Linked DNA regions of Homo sapiens: region 1 is linked to region 2. Evidence: promoter capture Hi-C in 16 types of primary human blood cells and fetal thymus (Javierre and others, 2016). All regions are on one chromosome and are shown on one strand. The core of a region is centred on a gene start or on the middle of the fragment in contact, and the rest is flanking DNA. Distances in the headings are between cores, read along the strand shown.

The links. The method cuts DNA at HindIII sites, captures the fragments that hold promoters and counts their contacts. A CHiCAGO score of 5 or more calls a contact.
Region 1: a contact is called between the fragment with the promoter of MAPK8IP1 here and the fragment with the promoter of PHF21A in region 2, in 1 of 17 cell types (naive B cells). The highest score is 7.8, in naive B cells.

Annotation. Positions count from the first base shown.
Region 1 is chr11:45,881,378-45,887,159 of GRCh38, reverse strand. MAPK8IP1 (mitogen-activated protein kinase 8 interacting protein 1) reads right to left here and starts at 1,509. Exons shown (of 12, transcript NM_005456.4): 1 at 1,239-1,509. The coding sequence starts at 1,339. It overlaps CRY2 (cryptochrome circadian regulator 2), which reads right to left. Exons shown (of 12, transcript NM_021117.5): 12 at 3,916-5,782. RefSeq lists a silencer at 1,248-1,647. The HindIII fragment of the contact is 6,698 bases long and covers 1-3,357 here.
Region 2 is chr11:46,118,263-46,124,212 of GRCh38, reverse strand. PHF21A (PHD finger protein 21A) reads left to right here and starts at 2,759. Exons shown (of 19, transcript NM_001352027.3): 1 at 2,759-3,278. It overlaps LOC105376661 (a long non-coding RNA gene), which reads right to left and starts at 2,068. Exons shown (of 3, transcript XR_931252.4): 1 at 1-2,068. RefSeq lists silencers at 1,927-2,236, 2,677-2,736, 4,150-4,229, 4,300-4,359, 4,543-4,700. The HindIII fragment of the contact is 5,748 bases long and covers 1,402-5,950 here.

The sequences.
Region 1 (5,782 bases), core at 260-2,759, 240 kb after region 2:
CTCCAGGTGGGGAGGCAGTATTTGCATGGAGGCCTCATGCACCATGCCAGGTGGAGTCTCAGACCTCAGTCTAAGGCATTATCAGAGAGCTGCAGCCCTGGAGCCTTCAGGCCTGGCCTCCTCCATCTGGCCCCCTCTGGTCCTTCCAGCTCAGCTCAGGGCCTCAGGGAAGGTTTCTGAGTTTGATGATGCTATTAGAGATCCCCAGGGGTCTCTGCCCACCTGAGGACCTGGGAGCCAGTGACCCCTTGCTCCCAGGAGGGGCTGGCACCACAGCCCAGCTGGAGCCTGGCTGGGGTGGTGCCCCAGGAGAGGGGAAGGCGCCAGTTCTCGAGATGGGGAAACAATGGGGTATGTCTAAGCCTCCCTCTCTAGGCCGGGAGCAGTGACTTCGGCCTCTTCCTCCCCACCAACTAGGGTTCAGAATTATGGGGGAGGTACATCTATTCCTCCTCCACACAACACTCACCCCTCACTTCTCTGAAATGCATCGGGCCTAACACCAGATTGGGGGGTGGGGGTGGTGGAATAGGAGCTCAGGTCAGGGTTCTGGGTATTTACCCCAGCAGGGATCCCCTCGACACCCTCGCTGGCCCTGGCTACTCCAGAGCCGAGCCGACTTCCCTTCCCGCAGCCGGGCCTAGGATTCCCCTGGTTGAGGCTGAGCCTTCAGCGCCTGCCCTGAGAGACACACCTGCCTAGGTCGGTGCTGCCCAATCCAGAGAGGGGCCCGGCCACGCCAGGCCTGGCAGGTAGGCCCATCTGGCCAGGCAGGGCTCGGGGAGGGGCTCAAACATCCTCCTCCCAGCACCAACAATGTCGTTGCCCCAGGAAACTGCGACCCGCGCCCCTCCAGGCTGTTCCCAGCTCTATTCACAGGCTAAGATGCAGCCTGCCTGCCCGCTCCGGGATCGCAACCCCGACCCCAGACCCTGCCGCAGCCCGGAGGTTGGGGAGAAGGAGGCCTCCGAGCCCCCTCCTCCAATTCCAGCGCAGACCTCCCAGCCTAGGACCAGGAATGGCGGAGGGAACAGCCTCGTGAACATGCAACGGCTACCAGTCCGGACTTGAGGCTGGCGGGGCTTCTGAGGGGGGCTCTGTCCCGGGAAGAGACCCCACTCCCACGCAGCCCTTTCGTTCCCGGGTTCCCGAGGTTCTGGGGTGGGGGGCGGGCAGGGCAGCCAATGCGGATCAGTCCCCGCTGAAGGGCGAGGCGCGCGGCGGCCGGGGACTCTCACCTGAAATTGGGAGGCGAAGCGATGTGCAGCCCCAGGAACGGGGAGGCGGCGGGCGGGGACGCGGCCCCCCCTCCCAGGCCGCCGCTTTCTCGCTCCGCCATTCTCGGGCACAGCCCTGGCCATCCGGGCGGAGCGCGGCGCGGAGGAGGCGGCGGCTGCGAAGGAGGCGGAGGCGCGGCGAGAGGGCAGCCGCCGCCGCGGAGTTCGGGCTAGGCGGGCGCACCTGTGTCTGGCAGGGCGCGGCACAGCACCGCGCACGGCCCGCGGGACTGGCGAGAGCGCCCCGCGCGCGCCCCCGGGACCCGGCCGGGGTCTCGCGCGCCCCGCCCAGGCCCCGCCCCCACCCCGCCAGCCCCGCCCCCGGAGATGGCGCTCTCCGCGGTGCTGAAGCCACGGCCCCCGCGGCCCTGGGCTTGGTTCAGCCCCGCCCTAAATCCGACATCGACTCTCCTCCACCCCGTGGCCGGTGTGGGCTTTGTCCCTCCGGTTGGGCTTAGTGCCCGGGTATCAGATGACTAATGGCAGGACACTGGACCCCAAGGTCCAGGTTGGCCCCCCGCAGCAGAGACCAAGAAGGCAGGCGGAAAAGGAGGGTCGTGGAGGAAGGCAGAGAAAGGAGAGGATGTCAGTGGGCTCTTAAAGTGTACAGGTTTGGAGTCAGGTGGTGTGAATTCACTGGCTCCACAAGTGACTGGGCAGTGGGGCCTTGCATTAGTGACTTCAGAGCACTAAGGTTTGGTCTTCTTATCTGTGAAATGGGACAATAGCAGTCCCTCTCATGGTTGTTGTGAGAATGTAACGTAACACAAATGTGTTGCCTGAGACCCAGAAACACTCCACCTCCTGCGCTGGGATCCAGCCCTCACCCCAGTCCTGTCCCTTTACCTTGAGGGGACCCTCCCAAAGACTCTCCCTAGAGGCTGTCTTCTCTAAAGATTGACCCAAATCTCTCTTCAGCCCCAAACAGCTACTCGTGGTGAATTGAGCCCTCCAGGCTTCTCGGTCTCTCGCCAGGACCTTCCCAGCATTCTCCTTCTTAGCGCCTCAACTGCATTTCCTGCAGAGCACCCCTCTTCTGCACCCACAGACACACATTCTAAGACTTGGCGCCTTTCCCTCTCCTCCCACTGTTGACTTCTTGGGATCATTTTGGTTGTTTCTGTTCCCTCTGGCACCTCCATCCCTGCTAGGCTTTGGCCATGGCTTCTTCCTCATTGTCTCTCCCTCGAGAGGGTGTTATTCCTGGGCTTCCAGGCCTTCAAGTCCCTGAGTTTCCCGATTGAGTTATTTCAGAGTACGGACTGCCAAGGCTAGGGCCTTAGCTTTGCTGGGTCGTAGAGCCTCTGGTCAAACCTCATTGGCTTCTCTGGTCTCTCGAGAGAACCCTAGAGACCCTGTCCACAGGGCAGAAAACGTGCAGAGCAAACTGTGCCACAACTCGTGGAGTCCTATTTGCAAATCTGGACTGCCGACCAGTCATGCTGGCCCCTTTCCTTCAGTGCGGCACCTAGCAAGGAGCTGGAGGCACCTTCCGTGCAGAAGGCAACCTCCGACCACCAGCCCTGAGAATATCCCAATACCTAGAGCCAAAGGTCATGGCTGCTTCTCTTTTCCCTGTCCCTGGGGCCCAGAGGGGTGGCCACTACTTTCTCAGCTTTCGTGATCAGGCCCCTTTCACTGGGCCCTCACGGTAATCATCTGCTGCCATGGTGCCTGGCTTTTCCTCTCAGGAAAGCAGTCTTGCCATCATGGCTACTAATCGTTCCTTAGAATGTAGACCTGCCTCAGCTAGGGAACATCCTTAGCAGGTCAGGGGTGGATGTAAAGGACAACTCCCTCTTCCAGAACCTTTTGCTCAAGAGCAAAGTTATCTTAGCTCCAAAGACCAACCCAAAGCCATTATTAGAGAGAAGCCAGAAGGGCAAGAAGGAAAGGCAGGCCCAGGTCTTGGTATGAGGGAGGCCAGCAGGAGCTTCAGAGCAGAGCCAAGAATGAGACAAGTTCCCAAGGCAGGTTCCTCCCCTTTTCTCCTTCTTCACTCTGTGCAGGCCAGACTGTGATATTCTTGGGCCTTGCCTGGGCCCCTTCCCAGAAAGTTGGGGTGTGAGCTAATAAAGCTTTCAGTCCAAGGCTAGCATCCCCTAGCATGGAAGCAGGGCACACTGCACAGAGAGGGGCCATTCTCTGGCCAGGAGACAAAGCCAGCATCCAGGCGCCCTAGGCTTGGCTGTGGGCAGATCTCAACCACCTAGTCACAGCCAGAGAGCCTGCATCCCCTCCTCACCACAGGCTGCAGCTTAAGTGGCTGCATTGAATTAAAGGATGGATTGAGGGCGTGGAGCAGGCCCTGCACTGACTGACCCCCAGCCTGGGAGGGGGTTTAAGTGGGCTGCAAGGCTGGGTGGCACTGCAGGATGGCACTTAGGACCCTCACTCTGGGCCAGAGTGCTCTGTACTATTTTGGCCAATTGACCCCCAACTCTTGACCAAGCTCTGGACCAACTCTTGACCAAGCTGCTCCAGTCTGCTCTGGCTGCTCCCCCTTCCTAAGGAGGAATAGGAGGCTCCTGACTCCCACAGAACCAAGATGGGGTGGCCGACAGCTTCATTCAGGCTCAGGCTTACCAAAACCCTGGTTCCCAGGCCTCCCACAAGATTGACGACAGCACAAACTTACTCAAGACAGGTCAGACATTTATAAAACAAGTGAATATTCACAAACAAATTGTGGGAGAAACACACCTTCCCAGCAATAGAAAATCTCTATAAAGTGCATTTTGCCTGCAACCATCTCTTCCCCATGCTGGCCCTTGGGTCAGGATTTGAGGCACTGTTCCGAGGGAGCCCTCAGGGCCACCTGAGCTGGGAGAAGGGAGGCATGAAGCCACCATGGAGCTCCAGGCTACTGGACATACCCTCTCTACCCTGCCCTTCCCTCTTGGCTCCAGGAGTGCACTGCCTGACTCCACTGGCAGGTTGATCTGGGAACGGGCTGACATGCTAGGGATGGTGGAGAAGTAGGCGGAGGTGGTCCTGCCAACCTGTACCTTAGGGAAGAGAGCCAGCAGCAGACAGGCAGGAAAAGGAATCATCCTGCTACCCGAAGGCGCTGCTAGTGAATACTAAATCTGGGCCTCGGCCTTTGGCCTTCCCACTCTCAGATTTGCCCTTCCAGGTTTGCTTGACTCTCTTTCTGGCAGTGGCCCGATTCTCTTTCCTCTCGACTGGGGCTGAGGGAACAGGGAAGCCCCCAACCCAATGCTCTGAATGCACACCATCCCCTGTGCCCTGCTCCCCTCCCACGATGATGGGACATTTCTAGTGAAGGTGACATACGTACAACAGTTGGACTCTAAAGGCAGCTCTCTGGCTGAGAAAACCTGAGGATATCTCAGGAAGAAGCCTGTCAGTGTGATGGACAGCTACAGGAGATGGGTCTGACCCCAGGGTTCTGGTCCAAGGACAGAGGACAGTGAGGGACAGGGCTGGGGCCAAAAGAATTAACAGATCTGAGGCTAGGAAAGGTCACAGGGGAGGTAGAAAGGAAAAGGCCCAAAGGCCAGCTTAATGATACACGTGAGGACAAAAATCCAAACAGGAATCAGCCTCATAGCCACACACACACACACGTACCACACACGCACACACACACACACACTTTGTGGCTCAAGTGCAGGCCACAGGGTGGAAGGAAGACTTGCTTTAGTTGGCCACCGTCGTCCTTTTGCATGACATCTTTCTCAACACAGGCCTTTGGCAGTGGGAAGGAAGAGGTGGGAGGCACAGGCCACTCCTGGAATGCAAGGATTGGCTTCTCTGGGTCAAACCTCCCACCTACTGCTCCTGGAAGGAATGGTGTTCTGGGTGTAATCTCTACTTGGACTTTTGCCAACTGCCCCTGGCAGTCCCCATCCCTGAGTCCCTCTGCCTGAGTCCTTGGAGCTCAGCTACTGGGATAGCTGACATGGCAGTCTGGATGCTGACAAGTCCAGGACAGGCCCTGGAAGCCAACAGAATAAAGACTAGAATGGTTTCCCTGGCTGGGTGTCAGCTGTCCTCACTGGCAGCACTGTGGTGCCTTGGAGTGTGGCCAGAGAAACCAGGGGGCCTTACGCCACTGCAACCTGGTCTCCTCCTGGTAGAGTGAGTCAGTTTGACCCTTGCCCCTTCACAGCTCCTGGGTAGGCTCTGAGGCTGGCTCTTAGCTTCTGGGGAAGGAACAATGACAGCTGGGATTCTCTTTCTAATTTTAGGTTCTAAATCCTGAAAAGGTAGGTGTGCTGTCTTAGGCTCCTATTACAGTACCAGGCATACCCCACACCAGTCAGGTATCTGTGTGTACTTCTGTAGGGTGGTGGAAACTTTTTAGATCTGTCTATGGCCTCATGCTCAGTCCCAGAAGCCCAAGGAAGGGCCTGGGACTGAGCCCAGTAGCAGAGAATTTTAAAATAAGAAACAGAGGCCAGGTGGCTACGTCTGGACAGCATCCATCCACTCCGGCCTGCTCAGCCTCCAGGTCAGAAAGCAGGAACTCAGCAGGGCTC
Region 2 (5,950 bases), core at 1,510-4,009:
GTCCACCTTAAGTCTTTTTTTATAGCAAGGATTGGTAAATGACAGCCCGTGGGCCCCATCCAGCTCACTGCCTGGTTTTGTGAAGTCCCCAAACTGGGAATGTGGTGCTTTTTAAAAAATTTTTCTTAATGACTGAAAAAAATCAAAAGAATATTTCAAGACATGTGAAAAGTACATTAAATCCAAATGTCAAGGCCTATAAATACAAATTGTATTAGAACATAGCCAGATTCATTCATTTACATGTTGTCGTATAGATGCTTTTGGGTTATAACAGCATAGAGTGGAGAAGTTGTGACAGGGACTGTATGGGATGCAAAATCTACGATATTTACTATCTGGGCTTTTACAGAAAAAGTTTGCTAACCCCAGTTCTATAGCATGATACAATTAGAGGTTCTGGATTTTTTTCTATGAAATTCCAAAAAAAATTTTACCTTCTTTTTCCAGAAAGAACACCAAAGCAGTCTTCCTATGAAAAAAGGTTGATAGCCTGGGATGATTTGAAATCACACCATTAGGTTATAGTTCCAGTGACTGGCCAGTGGGTCCAGCTTGAAAGACCCCCTCCCTCATTTTAAATACATTACAGTTAGCTCTAGATGGTAAAGCTGGGTCTTACTACCCAACCTGTCCTCCCGTTATTCATCTTGACTGCGTTATGGGTTTAGTTTCACAACATTATGAGTTCATCTAGGCTTCTTGAATCATTTATAGGAATTTTCATTTTCACTCTCAAACTCTTACACTTTCGCTGCTGTGAATTTTTTTTAACATAAAGCTCAGACTACTAAATGGCCTACACATGTACCATAAAGTCCATATTTTATTTTTTAAGAAATCAGAATTTTTAAAAATTGCTTTTTCTTGAGAAACTAAACTTAATTTTGCAGGTCACGAAAGTAAAAAAATACCTTCATATCCAATGATCTCAAAGCACCTCTTGTGAAAATACATAACAAGGTAATAGAAATATTATTTAATGGAAAAGATGTGACTAGTAAAGTCCAAGGCTATTTCTGGTTCTGCGAATGACTCACTTTGACTTTGGGCAAATCATCTCACCACTGTTGCTCTTTATCTGCAAAAACTGGATTTCATGCCTATGGGAGTTGCATGGCTAATCAATGCCTGGAAAATGCGTAGTGGCAGTTGCTACAAAAGTGCTGAGCTTTAAAAACAAAACCCCCCACCCCCCCATTTGTATTCAGTTGAGGTTGGGGTTTATTGTTATTTAACATTCGAAGGCCAACACTATGTTAAGTCCAGAGTGCTGCACAGATCAGATAATATCACTGTCCAGTAGGGGTTTTTTTTAATCTAAGATTTTTTACTTTTAAAAAATTTATTGTGGTTGGGGGTTTAGAATCCGGTAATACATCCATACAAAAACGTTAAGCTTCAAGTTGAAAACTATCGATTCGAAAATCTAAATAAACCCCCTCCAAAAAAAAAAAAAAAGGCCCTCCCCCGCCCCGCCAAGAAATCTCTCAAAACAAGAATTCTTCTGATGTTTTTCTCCTCCCTGCAATTCTCCATGTTACAGTCCTTGGAGGTAGAATAGGCATAAAATACTTTCACTAATAAAATATGACAAACCGCCGGATTATACGTGGCCGATTCCCAGTGATTGCCCTGCTACACAAAGCAGAAAAGTAAATGCCATCATCCCCCTTAGAACAAAAGAACTTAGGAATAAAAAACATGGAGAGGGGGGAGAAAGCAGCAATAAATAAAGGTGAGCGAAGGCCCCCGTCCCCCGCCCCTCCCGGGAGCGAGTGCTGGACTAAGTACTGCTAATAAAGTGGTTCAAGGGTAGTTATTTGGAAAGGGGGCGGGGTGGCGAGGGGAGGGAGCGGGCGAGCGGCGGCCGGGGATTGCATGTTGCATTCGACTTGAGGTTGCATCTTTCTCCTGTTGCCTGGACCACGCTCCCCCATTGCAGTGCTTCCCCATCACTTCTCCTCGCTCCTGCCCCTCACGGCTTTCCCCCCCCCCCTTCAAACTGCTGTTGCACTGGAGGGAGTTGGGGCCGCTCTGGAGCCCCTTTGCAGCTCCCGCCGGCGGGAGGGGGGAGTTGGGCTCGGGCCGCGGAGTTGGGGGGGCCGCCGCGGGCTCCGGCCTCGCCTCGGCTGCGGCTGCACGGGAGCCGAGCTGCGGCGCTGCACGGGCCCCGGAGTTTGGCTGCCTTCGCCGCCGCTCGGTGCTCGGCCCCATCACCGCCGCCGCCGCCGCCGCTGCACTGGAGTTTGGCTGCCGCTGCCCTACTTCACTCTAGTTTAGTTTCACTCACTTTACATCCGGGTTTTTTCCCTAGGCAATGGGTGCCGCAGCACACCCCGTTCCTTAGGCAAAGTGAAATAAATTCGCCGCACCGACACGTCAAGTAGTCCGCCCGCCCGAGCGCCGCCGCGGGCCCCCGTCGCCCCCCCCGCCGACGCCCCACCGCCCCCGGTGGGGGGACCCGAGCGTCCCGGGAGCCGCGGGCCGAGGCGCGGGGGCCCGGGCCGGCCGCCGTACCACTCCGCCCGGCGGCCCCCTCCCTCCCCGCCGCGGCCCGCTCTCCCCCGGCGCCTCCTCTCCCCTCGCCCTCGTCCCCGCTTTCCCAGCCCCAGTCCCTCTCGCCCGGCTCTCGGGAGCGGCGGGGGCGCGCACGGCGGCGGCGGCGGCGGGCCGGCGGGGCCGCGCGGCGGGCTCCCGCGCGGGCGAGTGTGTCTGGGCCTGGGCGGAGGGATCCCCGGGCTGAGGCGGCGGAGGTGCTGCGGCCCGGGGCCGGGTGGTGAATGGGCTGGTGGTGCTCGCTGCTGCTGCTGAGAGGAGGAGGAGGATGAAGAGTTGGGCTTGTTTGTCTCCTACAGTTTCTCTCCTGCTGCTCTGATTCCCCCCTCCCGATTCCGGCCCGGGGCCTGTGTGTGTCCCTCCTGGAGGAGGAGGAGGATCCAGTTCCTCCCCCCAACCCCCTCCTCCCCACCCCCCCTTGCCTGGGGAAGAGGAGGAAAGAAACAGCCCAGAGAGAGAGAGAGAGAGAGAGTGAGTGAGAGAGAGAGGAGAGGAGAGGAGGAGGAGGAGGAGGGAGAAGGGAACAACCTACCATCTTAACACACTAATATCTAAAAAGTGCGAGAGGCCCAGAGCAGCAGCAGAAGCAGCAGCAGCAGCTCCAGCTTCTTCCCTCCCTCCCCATGAAGAAGAGTTCCCTCCTCCTCCTCCTCCTGCTTCTCCTGCTCAGAGTTCCTGCCTCCAGCTGCCAGGGGGGACAGCCAGCCAGCAGCAGGAGGGTGCAGTATCCCAGCTTTTCCATTCTCTCTTCTTCTCACTCTCCTCTCTCTCTTTTTTTCTGGAGTAGCTCTATTTCCCCTCCCTCCCCCTTCCCCCTCTGCCTCTCTCCTCTCTCCCTCTGTCTTGTCGCTGGTGTTTGTCTCTGGGAGGATCAGGGGCTGCCTGCTTGGAGTTTGTTGTGGGGGGAGGTAGGGGGAGGGGAGGGGTGTGTGGGAGGGAGGAGGGAAAGGGGGGTGTTCTCGTCAGGACCCCTCAGTCAACTTGAGATTTGAGCAATAACTTCCCCTTCGGGGCGCCCCCCTGCGTGCCCTTCCCATACCTCCCCCCCGAAAAAAAAGACAATGGGAAAACCTTGGCTCCCCCCCCTCCCCTCTGCCCTCCACCCCTCCCCAGGATAAATTGGAAGTAAGTTTATGAGCAGCCTCGGAAGCCTGGGCGCAGAGTGCAGGGCCGGAGCCGGTGACAGAGGCGGCGTGCCGGGGGCGGCGGGGAGGGGGCGTCACATTGTCCCGGCGGGGGGCCGGCCGGGGGCTGCGGGCGGGGGCGGGGGGCACGGAGCCTCGCCCGCCCCCCCTCGGCTGTCCCTCGGCCGGGGAGGTAGCTGGGGCTCCTCCATCCCCCCCACCCCACCCCGGGATGCTGTCGGGGGGAAGTTTTTATTATGATTATTTATTTAATTAAAAAAAATTTTTTTTTGGAAAACCATCTTGTTTGTTGACTGAGGGATCTGGTTTAAAAAAAAAAAAGCTGCGGCTGCTGACGCTGCCGGGCCCCAGTGTGTGTGTTTGTGTGTGTGTGAGTGTGAGTGTGTTGGTGCATTTGTCTTGGGTGGCCGGAGCAGCGTTGGGGAAATTCCGCTTATTCTTCTTCTTCTGCAACTTGTTATTCCGGAGAGTCTGCCTGCACCCCTCACCCCGGGGCCGGCCCTCCCGCATTCGCCCCCGCCGCCGGCGGCCGCGGGGCGCCCCCGGGACCCCGAGCGGGCCGGGGCGGACAGGCCGCTCCGAGAGGGGCCGCGGCCGCCCCTCCCCCGCCCGCGCCCCCGCCGGGGGGAGGGGCGCGCGGAGTGGGACTCTTTCCGTTTGGTCCAGCCCCGTCGTGCACGCAGTTCCCAACACTTCTCGTCATCCTCTCTTTGGTCTCTTTATTCTGCTGAGCGGTGCTGTTAGGATTTCTTTTTTTTTTTTTTCCCCTGACCACGTTCGCGATGGTGGGTAGCAGCAAGGTGGCCCTGGTAGGGGAGGGGTTGGTATCGAGATTGGGCACCGGAGGAGAACGCCTTCTTTCAACTTTGTCTGTGGCTTGCACCCCCGGAGAAGGCCACAGGCCGGTTGTCGGGTGCAGATGTGCCGAGAGTGATTTCTAAGTAGTTGAGTTGTTGTGATGAGGGTACGACTGCTAATGGTCGGCAGGTTTTGTTTTCATTGGTGAATCTGGTGTCATCATATTCCGGTCATATGTTGAAATATTCTTTGTTTAGGTCTGGAAGTAGAGGATCTCACTCTGCACGTCCACATTGTGTTGTTTTTAAAATGATGTCTCTGGGAGTCTGGATTTCTAGAATTTCAAATCTGAGTGAAGGTCCGGGCATGTGTGGGCCTCATCACCTGGCCTTGACAGTGAACTTTGTGGCTGTGTTTCAGATTTCAAAGATTTGCCCCATAGCTGGGGAAGGAGTTGTGCATTTTTGCTAATAGTCGGTGTCAGGAATGTAGATGCTCGAGCTGGGAAAGTTAGAGAGGGAAGAACATTTATATATAAATAATGGATAGTTGAATATTAGAATCAGATTAATTTGGGCTGATGAAAGTTTTTTTTTTTTAAAGCAGTTGTGCACTCTGGGAAGGAAGTCTTTTCACAGGTTCACTTGATAGGGATTCTTTAAGGCGAGGGGCTGGAATTATCTCCTTTTTGAGCGAGTTCTCACCAACATCTGTAGCTTTATTGAGGGCCTGGTAAGGGTACTGAAATTGAGGCTAAACCATGTAAGCGTACTTTTCAGTGTTTATGATATTTGTTTACATCTGGTGTTCACTCTAAGCAATAGAAATAAATAGGTCAGCTTTGCTTTTGGTCTTTGAAGACTGGCCCCCTCCTTCCTTTTTTAAGTTTCACAATTTATTTGGTTTACAGCATTGTTGGAAACTGTTACTACATTTTTACTGGAAATACTATTATTCATTTTAATTTTGGTAAGTTCCTTCTTATTCTCTTCTTCTGTCTTTACTTGTTTATGGAATCGGTGTTGTGGGCTTAAAACTAGTTTATTTTAGGGGGTCATTAAAAATGTCTGAAAAATACATTTTCAAATCCCAGGACCTATCTTTTCATGGCAAAGAGGAAATTTTGTGTACAGTTATGCTAATGTTTATAAAAAAATTTCTGTACTTAAAACGTTTGTAGATGTACAACTATCCTTAAGTGAAGAGCATAGTAATAGTGCACAAAGTTCTCAAAACACAAACATCTGGCTAACATGTTACGAATATTCCAGGGGCTTTTTTTTTTTTTTTTTTAACATCAGACTTTTGCTTTTGGTAACATAATAGTATTTACAGTTTGACTGACATTGCTTGGCTGCCCATAATAAAGTGTTTTGCTTGGGTGCTATTGAATGCTTTTTAACTTAGTTTTTAGACAATTTTGCAGGCTTTATTTAAGCATGTTGTAT